3 separate regions of the Homo sapiens genome follow, and regions 2 and 3 are each linked to region 1. The links are contacts of gene promoters, found by promoter capture Hi-C in human tissues and cell types (Jung and others, 2019). All regions are on one chromosome and are shown on one strand. The core of a region is centred on a gene start or on the middle of the fragment in contact, and the rest is flanking DNA. Distances in the headings are between cores, read along the strand shown. Region 1 holds the start of FERMT3 (FERM domain containing kindlin 3). Region 2 overlaps MARK2 (microtubule affinity regulating kinase 2). Region 3 overlaps MARK2 (microtubule affinity regulating kinase 2).

The links. The method cuts DNA at HindIII sites, captures the fragments that hold promoters and counts their contacts. A contact is called where the count stands out against the background at its distance.
Region 2: a contact is called between a fragment that was not itself captured here and the fragment with the promoter of FERMT3 in region 1, in 1 of the 25 tissues and cell types used here (dorsolateral prefrontal cortex).
Region 3: a contact is called between a fragment that was not itself captured here and the fragment with the promoter of FERMT3 in region 1, in 1 of the 25 tissues and cell types used here (dorsolateral prefrontal cortex).

Annotation. Positions count from the first base shown.
Region 1 is chr11:64,205,053-64,208,527 of GRCh38, forward strand. FERMT3 (FERM domain containing kindlin 3) reads left to right here and starts at 1,669. Exons shown (of 15, transcript NM_031471.6): 1 at 1,669-1,762; 2 at 2,299-2,472. The coding sequence starts at 2,313. RefSeq lists enhancers at 278-840, 678-937, 841-1,403, 1,838-1,917, 2,238-2,317 and 2 more. The HindIII fragment of the contact is 1,553 bases long and covers 140-1,692 here.
Region 2 is chr11:63,868,764-63,872,238 of GRCh38, forward strand. All of the region lies in intron 1 of MARK2 (microtubule affinity regulating kinase 2), which reads left to right. Among named protein-coding and RNA genes, the nearest start is that of MARK2, 31 kb to the left of the region's middle. RefSeq lists enhancers at 964-1,183, 3,083-3,192. The HindIII fragment of the contact is 6,472 bases long and covers 1-3,475 here.
Region 3 is chr11:63,885,818-63,889,292 of GRCh38, forward strand. The region is part of intron 1 of MARK2 (microtubule affinity regulating kinase 2); the gene reads left to right. Among named protein-coding and RNA genes, the nearest start is that of RCOR2, 30 kb to the right of the region's middle. RefSeq lists an enhancer at 2,700-2,809. The HindIII fragment of the contact is 3,056 bases long and covers 345-3,400 here.

The DNA.
Region 1 (3,475 bases), core at 419-2,918:
TACAGGAGCCTGCTACCACACCCAGCTAATTATTATATTTTAGTGGAGACAGGTGTTTCGCCATATTGGCCAGGCTAGTCTCGAACTCCTGACCTCAAGTGATCCACCCGCCTCAACCTCCCAAAGTGCTGGGATTACAGGCATGAGCCACTGCACCCCACTGGGTGATGGGTTTTTTTTGTTTGTATTTTTTGAGATGGTGTCTCTCTCTGTCGCCCAGGCTGGAGTGCAGTGGCGTGATCCAGCTCACTGCAAGCTCTGCCTCCCGGGTTCACGCCATTCTCCTGCCTCAGTCTCCCGAGTAGCTGGGACTACAGGCGCCCGCCACCACGCCCGGCTAATTTTTTGTTTGTTTGTTTGTTTGTATTTTTAGTAGAGACGGGGTTTCACCGTGTTAGCCAGGATGGTCTCAATCTCCTGACCTCGTGATCCACCCGCCTGGACTTCCCAAAGTGCTGGGGTTAACAGGCGTGAGCCACCGCGCCCGGCCTGGGTGATGGTTTTAATGCACGGCTCTTACCTGAGAACTTAGGGTGCTAAGCTTTAATTACACTTTTCCATGGTTGCAACAAGCTGCGTTTTCTAAAGCTCTCTTCCTGGACTGGGGAGGCCTTTGGGGCAGGAGTAAAACTTCCTCATTTGCTCCAAGAGTGCTGCTTTCTGGGCTAGGAAGGCGCTGAGACTAGCAGCTGGCTGGACTTCCTGCTGTTAGTTTCATCAGCTTTCTTTTCCCCTGGGAATCCCCGGCAGGCCGCCCCCTTCCCCATCTGAGTGGCGATGCTCAGGTAGCCTCCCCCATTGGCAGGACTCTGCCGCCCCCAGGCTTGCCCACCCTGCATGCTCCAACCCCAGTGTGTTCACTGGAAAGGCCGCTGTCCTGCGCAGAGCTGGTGGCGGACGTGCCTTGCTCTACTGAAGTCCACATCCTAGGGCAGGTGATGAGCAGGAGGGTATAGACCACCAGAGACCCCTGAGGTGTCACCTAAGCAGGGACTTGATGGGAGTGAGCCTCGTGGGGACTCGGGGAGGCTCATCCAAGTGGAGCACAGTGGAGGGGTCGTGTTTGGAGCTGGGTGACCTGAGGGCCCGGGAGGTTGTGGATGGTCTGGGCCAAGTACTGTTCACTTGTTCACCTGGCAGGTCTGAGTTCATGAGTTTGAAGGTAGCCCTACGCGGAGCTAGGAAAAACTGCAAAATGGACTTGTTTCCCTCTGGGGCCTTGAGGGATCCTTGGTTGATAGGGATAGCCAGGCTGGAGCCGATTTAACCTGTGAGTCCCAAATAACCTGGATACACTCTGTCGACTCCTGGGCTCTCCCTCCGGCAGCCCAGTGATGTTTCAAAGCCCAAGGTCCCCACCTCATGTGACAGGCTGAGGATGGCAGACACTTCCCACAAAAGTGGACCTAGCCCTGAACACACACAGCCGGGGGACTTGTTGAGTTTGCACTGAGCTTCCCTCCAAATGAGGAAGGGGGCGTTTTTATGGTGTTGAGTCGCTAAGCCCCGCTCTCCCTAGCTTCCTGTGCTCTCTGGGGACAAAGGTGGGGGGGCCCCTGGAACCCTCTGTGGGCTGGCAGTGTGCTTCCTGCACCCAGCGCCAGCCCGCCCTGGGGAGGGGCTGAACCCGCCCTGCTCGTGATAAGGCACAAGCAAGGGCTGCCCTGAAGGAAGCTCCAAAGAGAAAGGAGGGCAGGAAGCCCACGGCCCACAGGGGTGTAGCCCGAGACCCACCTGCAGCCCCCAGCCCTTGCCAGGAAAGGTAAGCTCAGGCCTCACTGGGACCCTGGGCCCTTCTCTTCCTTATCCTCCTGCAGCCTCTGCCCAGCCTGCCTCTCGCCATGCGGCAGCCTGAACTTTCCACCTCCCCGGAGAGGCTTTGGCTGGTTTGTGATGTTGGCATCTGAGCTGTGGGCCAGGATCGGAACTACTTCCTGGCCTGGGTACGAAGCCATGGCCAGAGTGGGCAGCTGCCCCTGAGGGTCTGGGAGTGAGCTGTGGGCTGGCATTGAGCACGGTGGTCCTGAGTGAGCCCCTTCTTACCCGGCCTCAGTCTGCCCGCCTGTAGGATGGGAGCGGATTGGACTACATGGTCTCTGAGGGCCCTCGCGGCTCAAGCGCCAGCGCTGGAGAGAGAGTCTGAGGGTACCACGGGCGTGCTGGCCTGGGTGCTCACTCCCGCCCTCCTTCATGAGCGGCTTTCCTCTGGGTGTGTCCAGGGCATCACAGAGCTCTTCTGCCCAAACCCGGAGGCCTACCAGGGCCTGCCCACCTTGCCTCCTTCCACACTCTCTGTAGCAGCAGCCGCAGCCATGGCGGGGATGAAGACAGCCTCCGGGGACTACATCGACTCGTCATGGGAGCTGCGGGTGTTTGTGGGAGAGGAGGACCCAGAGGCCGAGTCGGTCACCCTGCGGGTCACTGGGGAGTCGCACATCGGCGGGGTGCTCCTGAAGATTGTGGAGCAGATCAGTGAGTGTCCGCTGCCCGCTTGCTGAACTCGGCACCATGGGCGGCCGCCACGGGTGTCTCTGGGCACTTCCGGGCCATCCCTGCTGCTCAGCTCCCGATAATGGTGTCACGGTGACTCAGGCATTAGCTTAATCATTTGGTTCCAAAAAAGACATTTCCCCAACTTCCTCTCCCTCCCACCCTCTTCCCTCCCTCCCTTCTGCTGCAGCTGGTCTGCTAAGGATCAGACGCAGCCACAATCCTCCATTCAGCCACCAATAGGGGCAGAAGGAGTGGTCTTGTCTGGGCCGAGGCTGAAGTCACATTGCTGAGGTCTGAGGGGGTCTAGGTGACCCAGGGGCCTGCCCCCACGCTCCCTCCCCTTGGCGGAAGCTTTGAGCAGGTTGGTGACAGGCCCAGCCTGGGTGGGAAGGCCCTGCCCCCACAGGAAGTTACAGCAGAGCAGCTGTGGTATCAGTCATGGAGGACCACGGGGCTAGTGACACGGGGGCTCCTCATCTTCCTTCCCTGCCGGGGGTGGGGGCTACCCCTTCCTGAGAGAGCAGCAGGAAGACCCCGATAGGCAGAGCCGGAAGACAGGCCCACCACAGTCCCGGCCAAGAGCCTGGGCCTGGGCTGCCAGTGGGTGGGGGGTGGGTGATGGTGGGGAGGCTTCCTCAGACCCCGCCAGGCCACCATGTGCAGCACAGGAGGAGGTCAGTCCGACTGTGGAGAGGATAGGGTCCAGAACGGCCCGGCCACAAGACTGAGGCTGTGAGGGGAGCTGCCAGGGGCAGGGCCCGGAGCAGCTGTGAGAATAGAAGTGAGGAACAGAGAGAGGGTGGTGAAGACCTGGGTGGCCCCAGGGCACGGCATGAGGGTAACGCAGGAGGCCTTAACCTGGAGTCAGACAGACCCCGCTGCTCTACCCGCTGCTGGGCACCCCAGGGCAAGTTCCTTTAGCTCTGTGTTCCCTGTGGTGGGGATACTGTCACTCCTAAGCACATCAGCTCTGTCTACTGAT
Region 2 (3,475 bases), core at 52-2,551, 340 kb before region 1:
AGAGGAACACTAGTGTTGGGAATATTGTCCAGCGTTGGAGAGATCATGTGGTCTGTCAGAAGGCTGGAGTTATTTATAGTGGGAGAAAAGCCCAGGAGCATGGCACGGGAAGAACTGATTTCACACCAGCTCAGCGCCTGATGATGGTGAGGACCCAGATTTTCCTTTGAGCATCTCAGAGCAGATCAGTCGCTTTTCCTGATTGACCCATGAACTGTGAGACTAGGGACCATGTTTTCCGAGGCCACTGTGAGTGAGGGAAGAGTGAGAAGGATGACCATTTTCTTCTTCCTTGATTCTGGTCTTTGTGATGTGTGGTATGAAAGTGTCATCTGACTTTTGAATCTCCTTTTATTGAACTGGTGAAGAAGGCACCAGCTGTGTGGGGTGGTGGAAATAAGGACCTGTTAAACTGGTCTGCCTGTATCTGCCTCCCTGCTCCCCCCTCACCCCACCCACCCCCACCCTGGGCAGGGAGGCTGAAACTGCTGCTTGCTAGGCTTTGCCAACTCAGTTTCTCTTCATGGATTACCTGCTCGCGGCAGGCAGGCAGGCAGCTCCCCACCTGGAAGCCTGCAGACTCGCCGAGCTGAGAGAATCATGCTGCAGGTGGGGGCAAGTGCTAGGAACTAGGTGTGCCACTTACCTTAACAGGAGCTGTGCCTAGTCCGGGCTGCTCAAACTAAGGCTGCAGAGCCCTGGGGCCTGTTGGAAATAGACTGTGCCTTTCCCTGCGCCTTGTGGCCACATTTTTATGGTATGTGGAGAGTCTGGGAGGGGCCGGGAGCTTGTAAATTGTGAGTAAATGAAGTCTAGGGAGGGAGATGATCCTTCTTGAGGGCACCCTGAGTTCAGGGTTGTCATGTTTCTGAGGTGTGCTACTGCTTAGTACCCTGATTTCTGGAGTTGTCTACCTAGGTTGCTTTTAATTTTTTCAGCCTTAGGTGGAAGAGATTTTCCATCTTGGTGTTTAGGCATGTTAGGTGAGGTTTACTTCCGGAGCCAGACTTTTAGGCAGGTTGTCTTGACATAAGTCAAGGTCAGGAAGCGATCTTCAGGACATGCAGACGATGCCCACTTCCTGCTGTGGTCTTGAAGAGGGCTGGAAGGCTTGTGAGCACAGAGGCACTGAGGGCTGTCGCATCCATACAGGAAGACACTCAGGGCTCGTCTCCGGTGCCTCATTTTATAAGCATGGAAACAAAAGTCCCAGGAGGGTGAATGACTTGCCCAAGGTGACATAAATTGTTTGCGCAGAGCTGGGTCTAGAATGGATCTTATGCCCTTGGCAGCGTGCCCCCATTGCCATCACTTCAGAGGGGCTGGCTGCAGCCCTCAACGGCAGAAGGCAAGCTGGGAAAGGACAAGTGGAAGGGTAGCAGGCCCCAATTCTGCACACTGGAGAGCACCTCTGAAATCCTGCCGGAGACTATGCCCATAGAGGTGCCAGAGGCCCTAGGGAATGATGATTTATTTTGTATTTTGTATTTTTGTGGAGACAGGGTCTTACAATATTGCCCAGGCTGGTCTCAAATCCTAGGCTCAAGTGATCCTCCCACCTGGGTTCCCAGAGTGTTGGGATTGCAGACATGAGCCGTGGCGCCCGGCTGGGAATGATTTAAAAGTCGGCACCAGCATTCTAGCCCTGACCCAGGCTAAAAGGGGTCACATGGAGCAGAGCTGTGCAAAGAGCTTTTGGGTGAGGAGTCACTCCGAGAAAAGCGAGAAGACTCTGACCCCGAGACTTCCCGTGGTGAGTTAGGAAAGCATTTCTGGAGAGCCTGTTAGGTGCCAGGCACTGTGGCTGGGCACTGAAGACACGAAGTGATTTAGTCTTGGAAATTCCCTTATGCTGCTCTCAGTCTGTGTAATAGTGAACAAGACAGCCAACAAGAGTTGTGAAGGAGGCCGTTCAGCAAGCAATGAAGTGCTAGTGCAGGAAGGCCCGAGCTGGGAAATGTCCGGAGAGACCCTGTGAAGTGATGCAGGGATCAGGAAAGCTTCCTGGTGGAAGCAATGTCTGAGCTGAGGCTCACCACAAAGAGGAATGGGAGTGACTGCTAGAGGGAAAGTGTTCCAGGCAGTGGAAAGCTGTGGCCAAGACCTGGGGGGGTCTGAGAGGCCATTGTACATTTGAAGACAGGTGGCTGGAACCCAGAGTGAGACTCTAGGAAGGGAAGAGAGTTAGTCTGGAGCTGCAGGCAGGGAAGGGGAGACAGCCAGCTCATAATACAGTGTGGGCAAAAATCCAGAAACCATGTGGATCTAATTTGATATCAATTTTACATGTATATGTGTATATACCTACACACACATACATAAAATCAGTTATGTTTGTGTGTGTGTATATGCATATTTGTGTGTGTGTGTACGTGCGTGCATACAGAAAGTTGTTTTTTTAAGGCATGCTTTAAATACGAAGCCATCACTTCCTTTTCCCAGTCCTGGGTGCCTTTTGAGATGAGTGTTGGTGCTCCCCCCACCGCCATGTGCCATCTTCTGGAGTAAGAGGGAGTGCTTTCACTGTGTGCAGGTGTGGCTAAAGAGTATTCACTGTGTGCAGGTGTGGGTGAAGAGTATTCACCGTGTGCAGGTGTGGCTGAAGAGTATTCACCGTGTGCAGGTGTGGCTGAAGAGTATTCACCGTGTGCAGGTGTGGCTGAAGAGTATTCACCGTGTGCAGGTGTGGGTGAAGAGTATTCACCGTGTGCAGGTGTGGCTGAAGAGTATTCACTGTGTGCAGGTGTGGCTGAAGAGTATTCACTGTGTGCAGGTGTGGGTGAAGAGTATTCACTGTGTGCAGGTGTGGGTGAAGAGTATTCACTGTGTGCACGTGTGGCTGAAGAGTATTCACTGTGTGCAGGTGTGGGTGAAGAGTATTCACTGTGTGCAGGTGTGGGTGAAGAGTATTCACTGTGTGCAGGTGTGGGTGAAGAGTATTCACAGTGTGCAGGTGTGGGTGAAGAGTATTCACTGTGTGCAGGTGTGGGTGAAGAGTATTCACTGTGTGCAGGTGTGGGTGAAGAGTATTCACAGTGTGCAGGTGTGGGTGAAGAGTATTCACTGTGTGCAGGTGTGGGTGAAGAGTATTCACTGTGTGCAGGTGTGGGTGAAGAGTATTCACTGTGTGCAGGTGTGGGTGAAGAGTAGGCTGTCCAGGATTTCAATCCTTGGCTTTTGCTCTGCAGCAAGGGCTGGCTGAGGGCACTGTGAGGCTTCTTCAGGCCCAGGAGTCAGGCCCACTTTCCCTTTTCTCTTGAGGGAATGACTCAGAGAACACTCCTGCCACCGGAGGTTCTGCAGGCTTTTGAGAGGCAGCCAGTGGAGGCTGATGGTAGCAGTTGGTGAGAAAGAGGAAGTATGTAGTGGCCATTCCTCCGGCCACTCCTGACAAATATTTCTGTCACTAAACAGCACCTCTCTGTGGCAGCCTTGGGCTGTGTTCTGGAAAGGGAGGAGCTTTCCTCTCCCTGTG
Region 3 (3,475 bases), core at 623-3,122, 320 kb before region 1:
AGCAAGACTCCATCTCAAAAAAAAAAAGAGGCCGGGTGCAGTGGCTCAGACCTGTAATCCCAGCACTTTGGGAGGCCAAGGTGAGCAGATCACAAGGCCAGGAGATCGAGACCATCCTGGCCAACATGGTGAAACCTCGTCTCTACTAAAAATATAAAAAAATTAGCTGAGTGTGGTGGCGGGCGCCTGTAATCCCAGCTACTCGGGAGGCTGAGGCAGGAGAGTTACTTGAACCCGGGAAGCAGAGGTTGCGGTGAGCCGAGATTGCGCCACTGCACTCCAACCTGGGCAACAGAGTGAGACTCTATCTCAAAAAAAAAAAAAAAGAGACGAGAGTCTAATTCTGTCACCCAAGCTGGAGTGCAGTGGCACGATCATAGCTCACTGTTACCTCCACCTCCTGGACTGAAACGATTATCCTGCCTTAGCCTCCCGAGTAGCTGAGACTACAGACCCATGGCACCATGCCTGGCTAATTTTTGAATTTGGAGAGAGAGGGTCTCACTCTGTTGCCCAGGCTTGTCTCGAATTCCCAGGCGCAAGTCGTCTTCCCACCTTGGCCTCCCAAAGTGCTGGGATTAAGGCATGAGCAACAGTGCTCAGCCCCGTGTGGCTTTTTTTTTTTGAGACAGAGTCTCACTCTGTTGCCCAGGCTGGAGTGCAGTGGTGCAATCTCTGCTCACTGCAACCTCCACCTCCCAGGCTCAAGCAGTTCTCATGCCTCAGCCTCCGAGTAGCTGGGATTACAGGTGTACGCCACCACGCTCAGCAAATTTTTGTATTTTTAGTGGAGATGGGGTTTCGCCATGTTGCTTAGGCTGGTCTCGAACTCCTGACCTCAAGTGATCCACCAGCCTCGGCCTCTCAAAGTGCTGGGATTACATGGTGGGGGCCACCATGCTTGGCCCCCATGTGGCTTTTAATCTAAATCCTACCCTATCTCTTCCCAGCTTTTCTGTTTGTAGTCAGTGCTTTGTATTTCCTCAGTTTACAAAATCCCTTACTGTCTCCCACAAATAGGATTGAGGAAACAGTCCTTCTGTCACATTGCAAAGCCCTAGAAAAATGAAGGGACTAGAAAAATGAAGCTGTTTGATCCTGCTCTGGTTCTCAGTCTACCAGTGAGTGAAGGGCCGGAGGGCCCGGGCAAGCTTGAGCCCAGGATCCAGTGGGCCCACTGAAGTCAGGGCCCACTTTTGGGGGGCTGGGAAAAGGAAGGGTTGCTGTGGGACCACTGGGATAGGCCTTTAAACAGCACTTCACCATTGGCCTGAATCAAACATTGTCATTCCCAGTGTCCCGAGCACCTTCCCTGAGTCTTCATACCTTCTGCCTCCTAGCTTATGGAGGAGGAGCCAGGGGCTTATCTTTTGGGGGAAATGAGAGCACGATTAGGCATCAAGAAGGGTTGATGAGAAACTGGTAAGGGGGACTGTCAAGAACAGCAGAGTGCTGAAATGGTGACAAAAGCTCTGGGCTCCGGCCCCAGCTCTGTACTGAGAAGCTGTGAGATTTTGGGCAAGTCTCATAACCTCTGAATGCCAATTTCTCAATGGAAAACAGGGAGACTACCTACCCTATAGGTCTGTGTTTGGAGAAAACAAAGTGTAAGCGCTGGACATACAGTAGCATCAGAAATGCTGAATCCGTTGGCCAGGGCTCATGTGTAAGGCAAACATTTCTTGGCCACTCCTGAGTAGCATGGTCTTGCAGGAATATATGCTTAAGTGCTGTGAGAGCACAGAGGAAGCTTTGCCCTTCCCTAGAGGGTTAATGGCTACCAACGTGAGAAGGTCACGGAGTTCCTTAATGAGAGGGAGCCTAGCCTAGAATAGGGGATGAATGAGAAATTGTTCTGAGAACCAGAGGCAAGGCTGCAACCAGCACATAGACAGGGGTCGTTGGTCTAGAAGGGGAGTCTTCTCCAGATGAGAGACAGCCAGCTTGCCCTGTGCTCACCATGTGCCCAGATAGTGGGGGCTTAGCAGGAGGAAGGTGTGAGGAATCCCAGGCCTTTGGAATTCCTTGAGAAAGCAGTGTTGTTTTGAAGGTAAGGCAGGGGATTGGTGACTGGAAACTTGGAGGTGAGTGAGAACCTAGGGATGAACGTTCAGAAGCAGGGCTGGAAGGAACTTAAAAGGGACATTTGGATTGTTTCTAGCTTTTGGGCAAAATCTAGGATTAAATATGATTTTTTCATTGATAGAATGCTCTATCAGTGATAAAGGCTCTTAATCTAGAAAACATACACCTCATAGGGGGCTTTACAGAGTCCCCAAACTCCCTGAAATTATGCTCAAAATATTTTGTGTCTAAGTGGAATGTGCATGTTTCCAAGGTTAAGCACTGCTTTTTTAGGAAGTAGGAGGTCCGTCCGCCACTGTCAGCTTGCTGGTTTCTGCTTACCCTCCTCCCCACTTCGTTCTTGAGGGGGTGGTTTGCTGGTCTTTGGCAGGGCCGCCACTCTGGGTCAGCACATCTGAGTCACACATGTTCCTCCCCAGCCCTATTGGAGGCTTTGTTAAAGTCATCTGCCCCTACCCAGGTCCCACCTGCCACAGGTGAGCTAGGGTTTTATGACAGCCGTGGCTGCAGTGAGTCTCCTCGACCTCTCGCCAGCTGTTACCCAGCAAAGCACCTTGGGGAGGGTGGGGCTGCCCACTTCCGGGGAGGGGGGGAGGGGGAGGGGAGAAGGAAGTTGATCTAAACCCGCCTCTTTCTCTGTCTCCCTTCCTGCCCTATTCCCCTCCTGCCCCTTCCCTCCCACCTTGCTTCTGGTGTGCTGTCCTGGAATTGCACGCGCTTCCTGACCACCAGGCTCTGGCCCTTGAGAAGCCAGCGGGGCTTTGTCCCTGTTGCTCTCCTTGCCAAACCCAGTCTCTCTGCTAGTGGTGGTTTCGGTTGCGACACCGTCCAGGTTCCCAGGCAGGAACCGCTCGGCCTGGCTGCTTAGCTACTTTTCACTGAGGAGGTGGTGGAAGGTGTCGCCTGCTCTGGCTGAGTAAGGGTGGCTGGCTGAGCCGGCAGCCCCCGCCCTAGGCCTGGCTCTTCCCGGCCTCTGTACTTTGCCCTCGCTGCCTGACAGGTTCTGCTGTGGGCTCTGCTGAATGGAAGTCGCTGGTAGTCCTTTTCCCTTTCTCCAGTCGGGTATGTTGTCCCCCTTTTTACTCTAGGATTGCCTCCTCCTCTTTCTTTCCTCTCATCTCAAACATAGGATCTTTAGAGAGTTGCTAAGGGGCGCCCTGCCTGAGTCCAGCATAGTAATATTCATGGGAAGGGTGTCCAGATGTGGAAGAGGCATTGACTAGGAAAGGAAGAGGGGGCACATACCAGAAGGGTCTCCCCTGAGAACAAGCAGCTTGACAAGTGGGCGAGGAGGGGCTGGTGGGAGGCAGAGGCCTGAGGCCTCAGAGAGGATGCTCCCGTGCTACAGTGAGGGGGAGCCTAGGATCTGGGGCCATTGCCCAGGACTGGT